Regions from separate parts of the Homo sapiens genome. Here region 2 is linked to region 1. The links are contacts of gene promoters, found by promoter capture Hi-C in human tissues and cell types (Jung and others, 2019). All regions are on one chromosome and are shown on one strand. Each heading gives the region's core, a stretch centred on a gene start or on the middle of the fragment in contact. The rest is flanking DNA. Distances are from core to core; before and after follow the strand shown.

Region 1 (5,737 bases), core at 1,441-3,940:
TTTCTTTCATCAAGGATCCCTCTGAGAATCTGATGAAAGTTATGAACCCTCTCTGAGGAAAAACTATATGCACATCAAAAATTCTGCATACAATTTTAGGTATATAGAACCCCTGAGATGCACTCACAGACCCTAGAAGTGAATGATTCTTACTAAGAAAACCCAGTCAAACAATAGAAAATAGTATAAATTGCAACACAACTCTAAATTAATTAAATTTGTTCATCGTTCCTTACGAATATCATCCTAATATATGATACATGTACACTTGTATAGGAATATATGTCAGTTCCTGTAAAAATCCAGTTAATAGCCGAAAATTGAAAACTAAGTCTTCTAGTGGTAATGATATTAAGGTACAGTATCCACACTCCTTTGCCTCTTCTTTATGACCAGGATAAAATGATTGACCAAGATGTTGACCATCGTCTGTAACCCAAGGACACATTATTTGTGTATGTGTAAACTTCTCTGGTTCCTTTCCAGAAAAACTCCTGATTTTTTTATAGGAATGTATCAGTTCTTTTTTGGTACAGTCAGAGTCCAAGGTCTATAGTAATCATTATAATAATAAGAGCCACTAAACAATACCCATGGTCTAAGCATTTCATGGAATATTATCTCACATAAGCTCTGGAATCCTATGAGATTATAAATTCCATTTTACAGATGGGTAAACAAACTCAAACTGGCTAAGTAACGATCCCAAAGTTGTAAGGCCAACAAGTGTTAGCAGAACCTGTAAATGGTAATGTTGGTATTTGAGCCCTCATCTGTTTAGATTTTATTGCCACCAGCGGTCTACAGCCATACCACCCTGAACGCACCCGATCTCGTGAGATTTTATTGCCACCCCCAACATATTGCTTGTCTAAAGCTCCTAACAAGCAACTTATTAAAATGTTATGATTGAAAGCTGTCTCTGAGCTTATTCAGTGTAATCTCCTCATCTGATTTAAATATGAGTCCCCTGAGGCTCAGGAAGGAGTACCGGCAGATCCCAAGACTACAATGCAGAGATGGCTGCGCCAGGTTTCAGCCTTCCAGTTTAGCATCCTGGCCCATAGCACAGGCCTCCAGTGGCCGAATGAGGTGGCTCCGGCTACCCTGCAGCTCAGACTCACTGCTTAGACTCAGGGTGAAAACCAGGTGTTTCTTTGACATTGTTGGATAAGATAGTAAATCTGGTAGTAAATCTAATGTAACCCATGTTAACAATCTGAATCTGACACGGAATTTAGGATATTGTCCTTTTTTTGTTTTTGAGACGTTGTTTCACTCATGTCTCCCAGGCTGGAGTGCAATGGCGCAATCTCAGCCCACTGCAGCCTCTGCCTCCCAGGTTCAAGCGATTCTCCTGCATCAGCCTCTGGAGTAGTTGGGATTACAGGTGCCAGCCACCATACCTGGCTAATTTTTGTATTTTTAGTAGAGACAGGACTTCACCATTTTGGCCAGGCTGGTCTCGAACTCCTGGCCTCAGGTGATCCACTTGCCTCGGCCTCCCAAAGAGCTAGGATTACAGGCATGAGCCACAGCTCCGGCCTAATACTGTTCTTCTTAAACTTAGAAATGCGATAACATTCTTAAATAAGACAATTTACTAATGGTTGGCTCAGTTCTAAAGTAGTGGTTAATTGTATTAGTAATCAGTGCAAAAGAGAAGAATTTTCCAAGTCAAGTCTCCACTGCACACTTTCCTAGGCAGCACCATTTTAAAGTCTGATTGCTCCTATTCATTGTGTCCTTTTCAAGTTGTGACTAATTTCCAGTTTTTTGAATTAAAAAAAATCAGTCAGCTAAAATATTTACCTATACACCCTCCTGTTTAATATTCGGATGTAACCTGTGTAATGTTCGAAATGGTGCAATTTTACAAAATACCTTATCACTTCCAGTTTTCTAAATTATTACCCACGGGAAAGATAAGAATAAAACTTGCGGGGCATAAAGAAAGAGTTACTGATGGACACACTCCATCAATCGCAAGAGAGAGTTTATTTCATGGAAATTTCCTCCTCCGCGAGCCATACATACACATAGTCACAGTTCCCTACAGGGCAGAAAACTATAGAAACGGGTTGGGGAGGAGACATCTTGGGTATGTCACTGGTAGACCAGGCACCCCCGCCCCCACCCCCCACCATGGGTCCTGCAGGGCCCTTTTCCTTCCCAACGATGCTGGGGAGGCGGGGGCGTCAACGCCGTGTCCAGACCTGAGGGGCCCCCCAAGGCGTCGGGTGGGCTACGCGGCCAGCGGCTCTGCAGCTGGAGGAGAGGACCCGGGAGAGGGAGCCCTGGGAGCCGTCCGCCTAGCCCGCTCTCTCACCAGCTCCGCCCGCAGCCTGGCCAGGGTGGCCTCAACGCCCGTCCAGCTCTGCTCCTCCCGCGCCGCCGCCGCCGCCGCCGCCTCCTGCACGCGCCTCGAGATCGCGCGCTGCACCGCCCACTGGAAGGCGCGCGTCAGCCGTCGTCTGAGGTCCTCCAGCAGCGGGCTGGCGGCGAGGGCCTCCTCCTGGATGTCCGTGCTCCTGCCGTCCCCGAAGAAGTCGCACGCGGGACGAGGTGGGAACCAAAGCTCCGCTCTACCTGGGAGTCCCTGGAGCCCCTGGGAAATTCTCTCTCTGCAGCGGCGGAAGTCCCCGGGGCCCATCGCGGAGACGCCTGGTCACTGCTCTACCGCTGCTGCTGAAAGATGAGTTTCTAAGTTTGATGTTTAGGGCGGGGTCAGGGCGGGGGCGGAGGTAATTCAAGGACCCTTGCCAAGTGGGATGCTGCAACTGCCCCGCCATTCAGAGACGCTCCTTTGCTCCCAGTCCCATCTTAGTCCTCCATTAGCGACAGAGGAAGGAGGCGGTTCCCATAACTCCAGGAGAAGTTTAAGCTGAGTCGCTTTTTTCTGCTGCTTGCATTGAAAGGAAGTCTTTCTAAGGAGAAGGCTTGGTAACTGAGCAGTCAGCCTATGTAAGTGGAAGTTGAGGTACAGGTGGAAGGTTTATGACCAAAGGTTAGAATATTTCAACCCAAAGCCTTCCTGGTTGCCTTGATCGTCTAATACGTCATTCCTTAAAAACAATTTTTTTTCTTCCTACTCTGCCAGGCACTTTGCCAAGTTTGGGGAATGCAAAGGCTTAATTAGACCCCTCACCTTTCCCCAGGTATTGCCCGCAGTCAAGGGGGAGAGCCTTGGCCCTGCTTGCTAGTTAGAATGTACCTTCTACAGGTTCAGTAAGGCATACCTGGAAGTCTGAGTCTCCATGCTCCTTTCTATTTTGACTCCTGTCTGCCATGTCCACGTTTATGAAGGGGTTAAAATGAAAAATCAAAATTCCCCTTAGCCCAAAGTGTGTGTGTTTAATTCCCAACTAATAAGGTTTGGCTCTGTGTCATCACCAAATTCCAGTGGAATTGTAATCCCCAGTGTTGGAGATGAAGCCTGGTGGGAGGTGATTGGATCATGGAGGTAGAGTTCTCATGAATGGGTTTAGCCCCATTCCCGCCTGGTACTTTATAGTGAATGAGTTCTTACCAGATCTGGTTGTTTAAAGTGTATGGCACCTCCTCTCTCTCTCTCACTCCTGCTCTGCCATGTAAGACACTTGCTCTCGCTTTGCCTTCCACTATGAGTAAAAGCTCCCTGAGGCCTCCCCAGAAGCAGATGCTGCCATGCTTTCTGTATAGCATACAGAACCATGAGCCAATTAAACCTCTTTTCTTTCCAAATTACCCAGTCTCCGGTATTTCTTTATAGCAGTGAGAGGACAGACTAATACACCAACTCCAGGTAATCATGTGCCAATATTACCTGTATATCCTTTATCAAAGAACATATTCTGCCTCTTTTTGATCTAATAGGGAATTTCTAAAAAGGAGTGAACAATCAAAACTTTTGTATGATCAAAGAATGCAATTACAAAAAAAAACAAAACATAGTTTAGACACAACTCTCATCTTATTCATCATTCATTCATTCATTCATTCAAAAGTTACAAGTCACTTGCAATGTTCCAGGGTCCATGGTAGGCATTGAAGGCAATAACAACTGATTTTTATTCATGCTTAGTATGTGCCAGGCAATTTTTATGTATTAATCTTCACAGCAACCTTGTGAGGTAAGTACTATTAGTTTCTGCATTTTACAATTGAGGAAACTAAGGCAAGAGATTAAGACGTACACCAAAGATCTCAAAGCTGGTAAGGGATCCACTGGAAATTTGCACCTAGGAAGTCTGGCTTGTGCTCCAAACCACTGGGATACACCCTGGATACGCTTTATCTCCCAAAGAGGAAGAGAGTTGCTCAGTTTATATGTTGCATGAGTGAGTGAGTAAGAGTGAATAAGTGTTTAAATTCACTATGTTCATAAAATTCGGCTCTATTGAAATGGCTTAAGGCTCAACTGGATAAGGAACAATACAGGTTACTCAGCCTGTGCAGATAATCTACTAAATTGAACAGCTTGCAATAGTTTACAACCCAAGCACAGTAAAATTCCTACCATTGTATATTGCTTCATAAAGATTCCCTAGAAACATCTGAAGATGTGTTGTCTTGGTAGAAATTATAAAAATCCATGTGGTCTGCCATGCAGCAATGGAGTGTGAATTTAGGGTTTTTTGTTTGTTGGTTGGTGATAGGTTGATGGGGCTTGAAAACCACCACTAGTCAATGTACAATATAAACGTTTAAAATGAATTTTTTGCTATGATTTTTCACTTCCATTTCCAGATCATTTACTTCAACAAGAATTTCAGTTAAGTTCAATTTAACTCAACAGTGAATGGCGCATGTTCAGTGTTAAGAATTGTGCCATATGAGGGAGATACAAAGATGAATAAGGCATAGTTTTTGTCCCCCAGAAGCTTAAAACCTGAGGAAGCAAATTTATTGATTCATTCATTTAACAATATTTATTTAATGTCTTATTATGTACCAAGCATTACACAAGGTGCTCAAGCTACAATGGCAAACCAAGGAGACAAAATGTTTTTTTAAAATAAACTGGTTTACCACAAATTAATAATTTTCCTCTATAGGTTAATTTTTCAGTTGTGGTACACCTTGAATTTTACAATTTTTTTTCTTTCTCTTACACAGGCAAAGCAAATTGAAGAATTGGAGCACTGAATATAACATCCACAGACATTTGAATTAGAAAATGTATTAATTATTTATTGCTGCATAACAAATTACTCCAAAATTCAATGGTTTAAAAAAATAAACATTTATTTTCTCTGACAGCTTCTGTGGGAAAGAATTTGGGAACAGCTTAGGTTATGGTCCTTAGCTTTTATGCTGTTGTAACCAAATGTCAGGCAAGGTCTCCATCCTCTGAAGCTGGATGTGATTGGCGCTGGAGGATCTGCTGGCAAGGTGAATCACTTAGATGAATCACTCAAATGCCAGGCAATTGGAGCCAGCACTTGGTGGGAGGCCTCAGTTCCTCTCCATGTGGACTCTTTCCTACTATTGTGTAAGCGTCTTCATGATATAGTGGGTAGACTTCCCTCAAAACAAGAAGAGAGAAATACAGAGAGCCAGAGAGAAGCTCTTTACATGTGCTCTGAACTACATTTTTATGACCTGGCTTTGGAAGTCAGTTATTACCATTCTGCTGATCAGTATCAAGTCTCTAAGTTGGAGCTATATTCAAGGGGAGGAACCTCAGCTCCACCTTTTGAAGTAGGGAGTATCAAAAATTTCCAAATATATTTTTAAACTACCATGGGAGAAACAT
Region 2 (5,737 bases), core at 1,493-3,992, 140 kb after region 1:
ATCTCGTGAGAACTCAGTCACTATCATGAGAACAGCATGAGGGAAACCGCCCCCATGATCTAATCACCTCCTACCAGGTCCCTCCCTCAACACGTGGGGATTACAATTAGAGATGAGATTTAGGTGAGGACAAAGAGCCAAGCCATATCAGAAGGAAAATGCGATGATTTCCATTCTCTGAAACATATCATTGTACCTCTAATGTTATTTCTACTTCTGGTAATGAGACTTATATTTGTTTTACAAGAAAAGCCATTGGAAAACGTTTTGTTAATATGTCAGAGTGACTGTCGCTGTTCCTTAAATCCTTCTCTAGCACCACAGAACCCAGATATAGAGGAATCTATGCCCTTTTTTACTCTGTGACAGTAAGACATATCTGATACCAAGGTCCGTATTTCCTAGTCATATACATGTTACCAATTATTTTATCTGAAGAATATTTTAAAATCATTCTTCTGCAAATTTGCTTAGTGTTTCCTCTACGTGTTACTCAAGGTTGTTTCCCTGGCTAGCAACAGTGTGAAAACTACGTGCTTCTTAAGAGGATGGGAGGGCTGGACACGGTGGCTCACGCCTGTAATCCCAGCACTTTGGGAGGTCGAGGCAGGTGGATCACCTGAGGTCAGGAGTTCAAGAACAGCCTGGCCAACATGGTGAAACCCTGCCTCTACTAAAAATACGAAAAAAAAATCAGCCGGGCTTTCTGGCGGGCACCTGTAATTCCAGCTACTTGGGCGGCTGAGGCAGGAGAATTGCTTGAACCCGGGAGGCAGACGTTGCAGTGAGCCAAGATCGTGCCATTGCACTCCAGCCTGGGTAACAGAGCAAGACTCTGTCTCAACAACAACAACAACAACAAAAAGGTAGGAATCACAACAGTCCCAGATGTAAGTCCCTGCAGGTGATGTTTGTAGAATGGAAAAGAAGCCTCATAGGTAATCAACAAAATGATACCAGATTGTGCTGGCTTCACCCTTGTCCACCCATTTAATTGCAAACACATGGAAGGACAAATCAGCTGACTCTCTGGGGTGAACCAGGCAGGGACAGAGCCTAAACCAGAGAGATACCAGATTTACTTGGCAAGACCATATTTTCCTGAGGTGCTTCAGACAACTTACAGATGACACAGCTGCAGGTCTTGGCTATTCAGATTTAGCTGCCTCATGGTGCAAGAAACTGCTGTGCAGAGGCAATGATCATTTTTATGAGTATGGTTCTCAAAAATCTGTGAAACTATTTGTTTTTGCTCTGTCTTGCTAAACCGCCCTTACCTGTTCCTCTCCTACAACTATAAACCTTGATTGCTGGTCAGTCAACACAGGCTTTGTCCACATCCACAAAAATCTAAAGACAGAACTAAGGCAATTACTAGAACGGTGCTTCACAAACATCCATGGGCATTCAAGCTGCCTGGGATATTGTTACGATGCAGGCTGTGATTCACTATGTCCTGAGTGGAGCCTGAGTTCCGCATTTCTAACAAGCTGCCAGGCATTGCTGATAGGGACAAGGACCCAGCTCACCAAGACCTGCAATTGAACTCCCTGAGATTAGATTCAGGCCATGATGAAAGAAACTGGGGTTTTTCTTTCTTTCTTTTTTTTTTAAGGGGCTTGGATTGACTTAGTTAAACAAAGGGCTTGTGGTCAGCTAGTGCCTCTCTAGTGGATGAGATCATAACATGTGAGAGGGCATGAAAAGGACATGAAGATGAAGTTTGTCCTGGCACTATTAGAATCCATGGTTGCAGTGGCCCCTGAAGCCCTGCTGAATCCCATGGAGTCTGGTTGTTAACAGTGCATTGGATTGCCAGAGCCAATAACTTCCTTGCTTTGCTTAAGCAGGTTGAATTGGACTCTATCTCTTAGAACCATGATTGCTCCAACGATTGCGTCCAAATTGTGATGCAATGACTTCATAAATTATCATATATCCCTACAGAAGAATTATACAGCTGTCAAAAAGTATTATTTCAAAAAACTTATTCGGATGGACAAATAATACAAGGGTAAATGACAAAGGCATAACATCAATGTATCTATACAGAATAATCTGAATTATATAAATTCGAGAAGAATATTAAGTAAATGCTCCAAAACATAGACAGTAGTTAAGGTCGACTGAATAACCCCCTCCAATATCTCCATATCCTAATCCCTTGAACATATGAATTTTATTTTATATGGCAAAAGAGACTTTGCTGATGTCATTAAATTAAGGACGTTGAGATGGAGAGATTATCCTGGATTACCTGGGTTGGCCCAATATGATCAGACTGGTCTTTATAATAACTCAGGAGAAGGCTCAAGCCTGTAATCCCAGCATTTTGGGAGGCTGAGGCGGGCGGATCATGAGGTCAGGAGATCAAGACCATCCTGGCTAACACAGTGAAACCCCGTTTCTACTAAAAATACAAGAAAAATTAGCCAGGCATGGTGGCAGGCACCTGTAGTCCCAGCTGCTCGGGAGGCTGAGGCAGGAGAATGGCTGAACCCGGGAGGTGGAGCTTGCAGTGAGCCGAGACTGCGCCACTGCACTCTAGCCTGGGCGACAGAGCAAGACTCCGTCTCAAAAAACAAAAAAAAAAAAGAAAACTCAGGAGAAGGCAGAGTTAGAGGAAAAGGGGATATGATGCCAGAAGCAAAATTGAAGATGAGGGAAGGAGGTTACAAAGAAATGTGGGTAGCCCCCAGCAACAAAAAGGCAAGGAAACAGGTTTTCCCTAGGGCCTCTAAAAGGAATGAGCCCTGCCCACACCTTGACTTCAGCCTGGGAAAGTCAATTCAGAATTCTGATCTCCAGAAGAATAAACTTGTGTTATTTAAAGCCATTAAATTTGTGTTAATTTGTTATAGCAGCAATAGGAAACTAACACAATAATTGGCTCTGTACTTCCACTTAATCAACATATGCTACTTTTATAAGAAAAAGGCAACTTAATTTAAAGGAAGGAATAAGTATAGCTTGCTATAAGAGGTATTATGAATAACACTTTTAACAGTTGAATGTAGCTTGGTTGCTGTTGTTTTCTAGGACTGTAGGATATAATCACAGTGTAGTCTAATTTCAACACAGCAAGAGAATGTCACCCTTTAATAATAGAATTCTGATCTCATCACTCCCTTGGGTAAACTCTTGGCTTCTGCTATTAATATCCAACAGGTGACTTAGCAATGTGTATTCACAAGATCAACACCTTTTGATAATTAAAAGGCCCAGTGGCACACTCAAATCACAGAGCACACTGAAGGCAGAACAAGCTCCTGACTCTATTTTGAATTCTCCTTTCTCCTCTCAGTATATTCCCAGCATGGTGGCTTTGGAATCACCAAAAACAAAAGGAAAGTGACATGACTGCTATTTGCCCTAGGAAGTCTAGTGTAATACTAAAAATCTTAAAACTCTAAATGCTGCTCATGAAGCAAACACACAAGGCTGCAGAATCCTGTTGTAACATTCCCAACCCCAGATGGGGTTCCCTGGCCCCACCTCTGAACCCTCAGAGTTGTCTGTGTACATTTTTATCCCATCCTATCATAATTATTTGTTTATGCACCCACTTTCCCAGCTAGACCTTTGGTTTCCTCTAGCGTAGGGGCTGTGTCTTATTCTTCTTTGATTTTCCACCCTAAAACAGTGTCTGGCATAGAGAAGGCATTTAATAAATGTTTGTTGAATTAAATTCAATTGACTCCTGGCCTTAGCAACAGAACTTTAGAGCTCTTACCCAACATAATAAGAATTCAACTTTCTTGATTTTATCTTCAAAGTACTTTGCTAAAGTGGAACGACATGACGTCTTGACCAACTCTTCCCCCAGGCTTTCGGCAAACATGAGATTTCTTCTCGGAAAGACCTGTCAATCTCTGTTCAACTTGGGTTTAGATTTCAAAGGTTAAAATTCGGACAGTGCCCTGGAACTCCAAAAGCATCTACGATGAGTGAGAGCCCCATTCAAGTCCCCTAGTTTCTCTTCCCTAGGTTTGATTCAATCCAGGCCAATATTGGTTAATGCCAGCTCTATCCCTTCCTCCTTAGGATGTTTTGCTAAATGTGTGTGGAGATGTAAAAATGCTATGGAATTCTTGATTCCTTAGGATCTTCTCAAGAAGCTTCTAAAGTGGCTGTATAGAGTTCCTTTAGCATGCCATACTATATAAGCATTTTGGCTTTGAAGTCATATTGATCTGGGTTTAAATTCCAACTGTAACTTTGGTAGCTATGAGACATGTGGTGTGTTATTTTATCTATCTGAACTTCAGTTCCCTTATTTAAAAACTGATGATAAAGTATCTACCTATTGAGATTGTTGTATACTTATATAAATTTGTGTAACATAGAAGGATTCCTGTACATAGAAAGTGCTCAAGAAGTAATGGCTGTTACTATTATGAATAATAATAATTATCCCACACAAGAGTCTCCAGAGAGAATAAGGCCCAATGCTGTATATGCCAAACTACCCTAGATTTAGATTTGGAAGACAGATCGTCCCTGGTATTTTTGCTTTTATATAGCCCCATCTACAGTGAGACCATAAGGAAAAATATGCTCTTCTTAGTCAATAGAACTTCCACCACCAAAGAGAGAAGACTCATCACTAATAAACAAATAACTCAAATATTCCCATTTGGACTAACCTTGTACATATCCATGCAGTTTTTCCTCTTCTTTGGAAATTAACCCATGATTGACCTCTTACCTCCACCCATTCATTTCCAAATATCACTAATATTTTAGGATTGAAGTCTCAAAACACCACAGTTGAGAAACTTCTGTTTTTAACCAAGATGGAATAACAGGGACTAGATTTACTCACCCAGCTGAAATAACAGCAGTATATATAAAATAAGGGTTTTCAAGATATTGAACATCAGCAACAAAGATATGTTTCCTGAGAAGTAAAAAGAAATGAAATGACTTCTACAGTTGCTGTAACTTTCTGCCTAGAGAGAGTTTCCAGGCTACAGAGCATGGAAGGGGAGCCCATCAAACTTCCTGAGACAAAGTTGGAAGTCCAGAGAGATAAGCTGGCTCGTGTTCCCAGGACAGAGTACCAGAGATGAGTGAGCTGCGGAGAGAGAGAACTTGGGAGATCTGCAGAGGGTGCCTGAGTTTTCAGCTGAGTACTGATCAGCTTATATGTAAGGAAACTACCTAAGGATAGGAAAAGAACCATTTGAAAGCATTATAAGGGGCAACACTTGGAATTCAAACAGAGCCCCCCCCACCAAAAAAAATTCCTGTTCCTACCAGCCAGAATGAAGAATATCACAATTTACAGAATGTTGGGTAGGTGCTCCAAAAAAGTGAGGCAGAATTAGCCTCAGACTTAACACAACTGTGATCTCACCTAATAACGTTTAACAGCAAACCTAAAATGATATTGTTTCCAAGTAACTTAACTGCCTAAAAAAATCTCAATATCTATAGGAATAGAAAAGTGTAGCCACCCTACAAGGTACAATTTTCAATGTCTGGCATTTAATTAAAACTTCTAGTCATGCAAATAAACAGGAAAATATAATGAGGAGAAAAACCAGTCGATGGAAACAGACCCATAAATGACACAGATATAGAATTAGTAGAGAAAAACACAAAAACACTTATTGTAATGTATTCCATTGTTCAAGAGCCAGAGAAAAGATGGAGCACATTCAATAAAGACAATGCAAAATTTTTAAAGACCCCAATCAATCATCTAGAAATGAAAACTATAATGTCTGAAATA

Evidence for each region. The method cuts DNA at HindIII sites, captures the fragments that hold promoters and counts their contacts. A contact is called where the count stands out against the background at its distance.
Region 2: a contact is called between a fragment that was not itself captured here and the fragment with the promoter of AARD in region 1, in 1 of the 25 tissues and cell types used here (IMR-90 fibroblasts).

Annotation. Positions count from the first base shown.
Region 1 is chr8:116,935,160-116,940,896 of GRCh38, reverse strand. It overlaps AARD (alanine and arginine rich domain containing protein), which reads right to left and starts at 2,690. Exons shown (of 2, transcript NM_001025357.3): 1 at 2,330-2,690. The coding sequence starts at 2,653. RefSeq lists a silencer at 2,321-2,420. The HindIII fragment of the contact is 10,639 bases long and covers 1-5,737 here.
Region 2 is chr8:116,798,644-116,804,380 of GRCh38, reverse strand. The region is part of intron 2 of LOC112268030 (a long non-coding RNA gene); the gene reads right to left. Among named protein-coding and RNA genes, the nearest start is that of UTP23, 35 kb to the right of the region's middle. The HindIII fragment of the contact is 4,683 bases long and covers 401-5,083 here.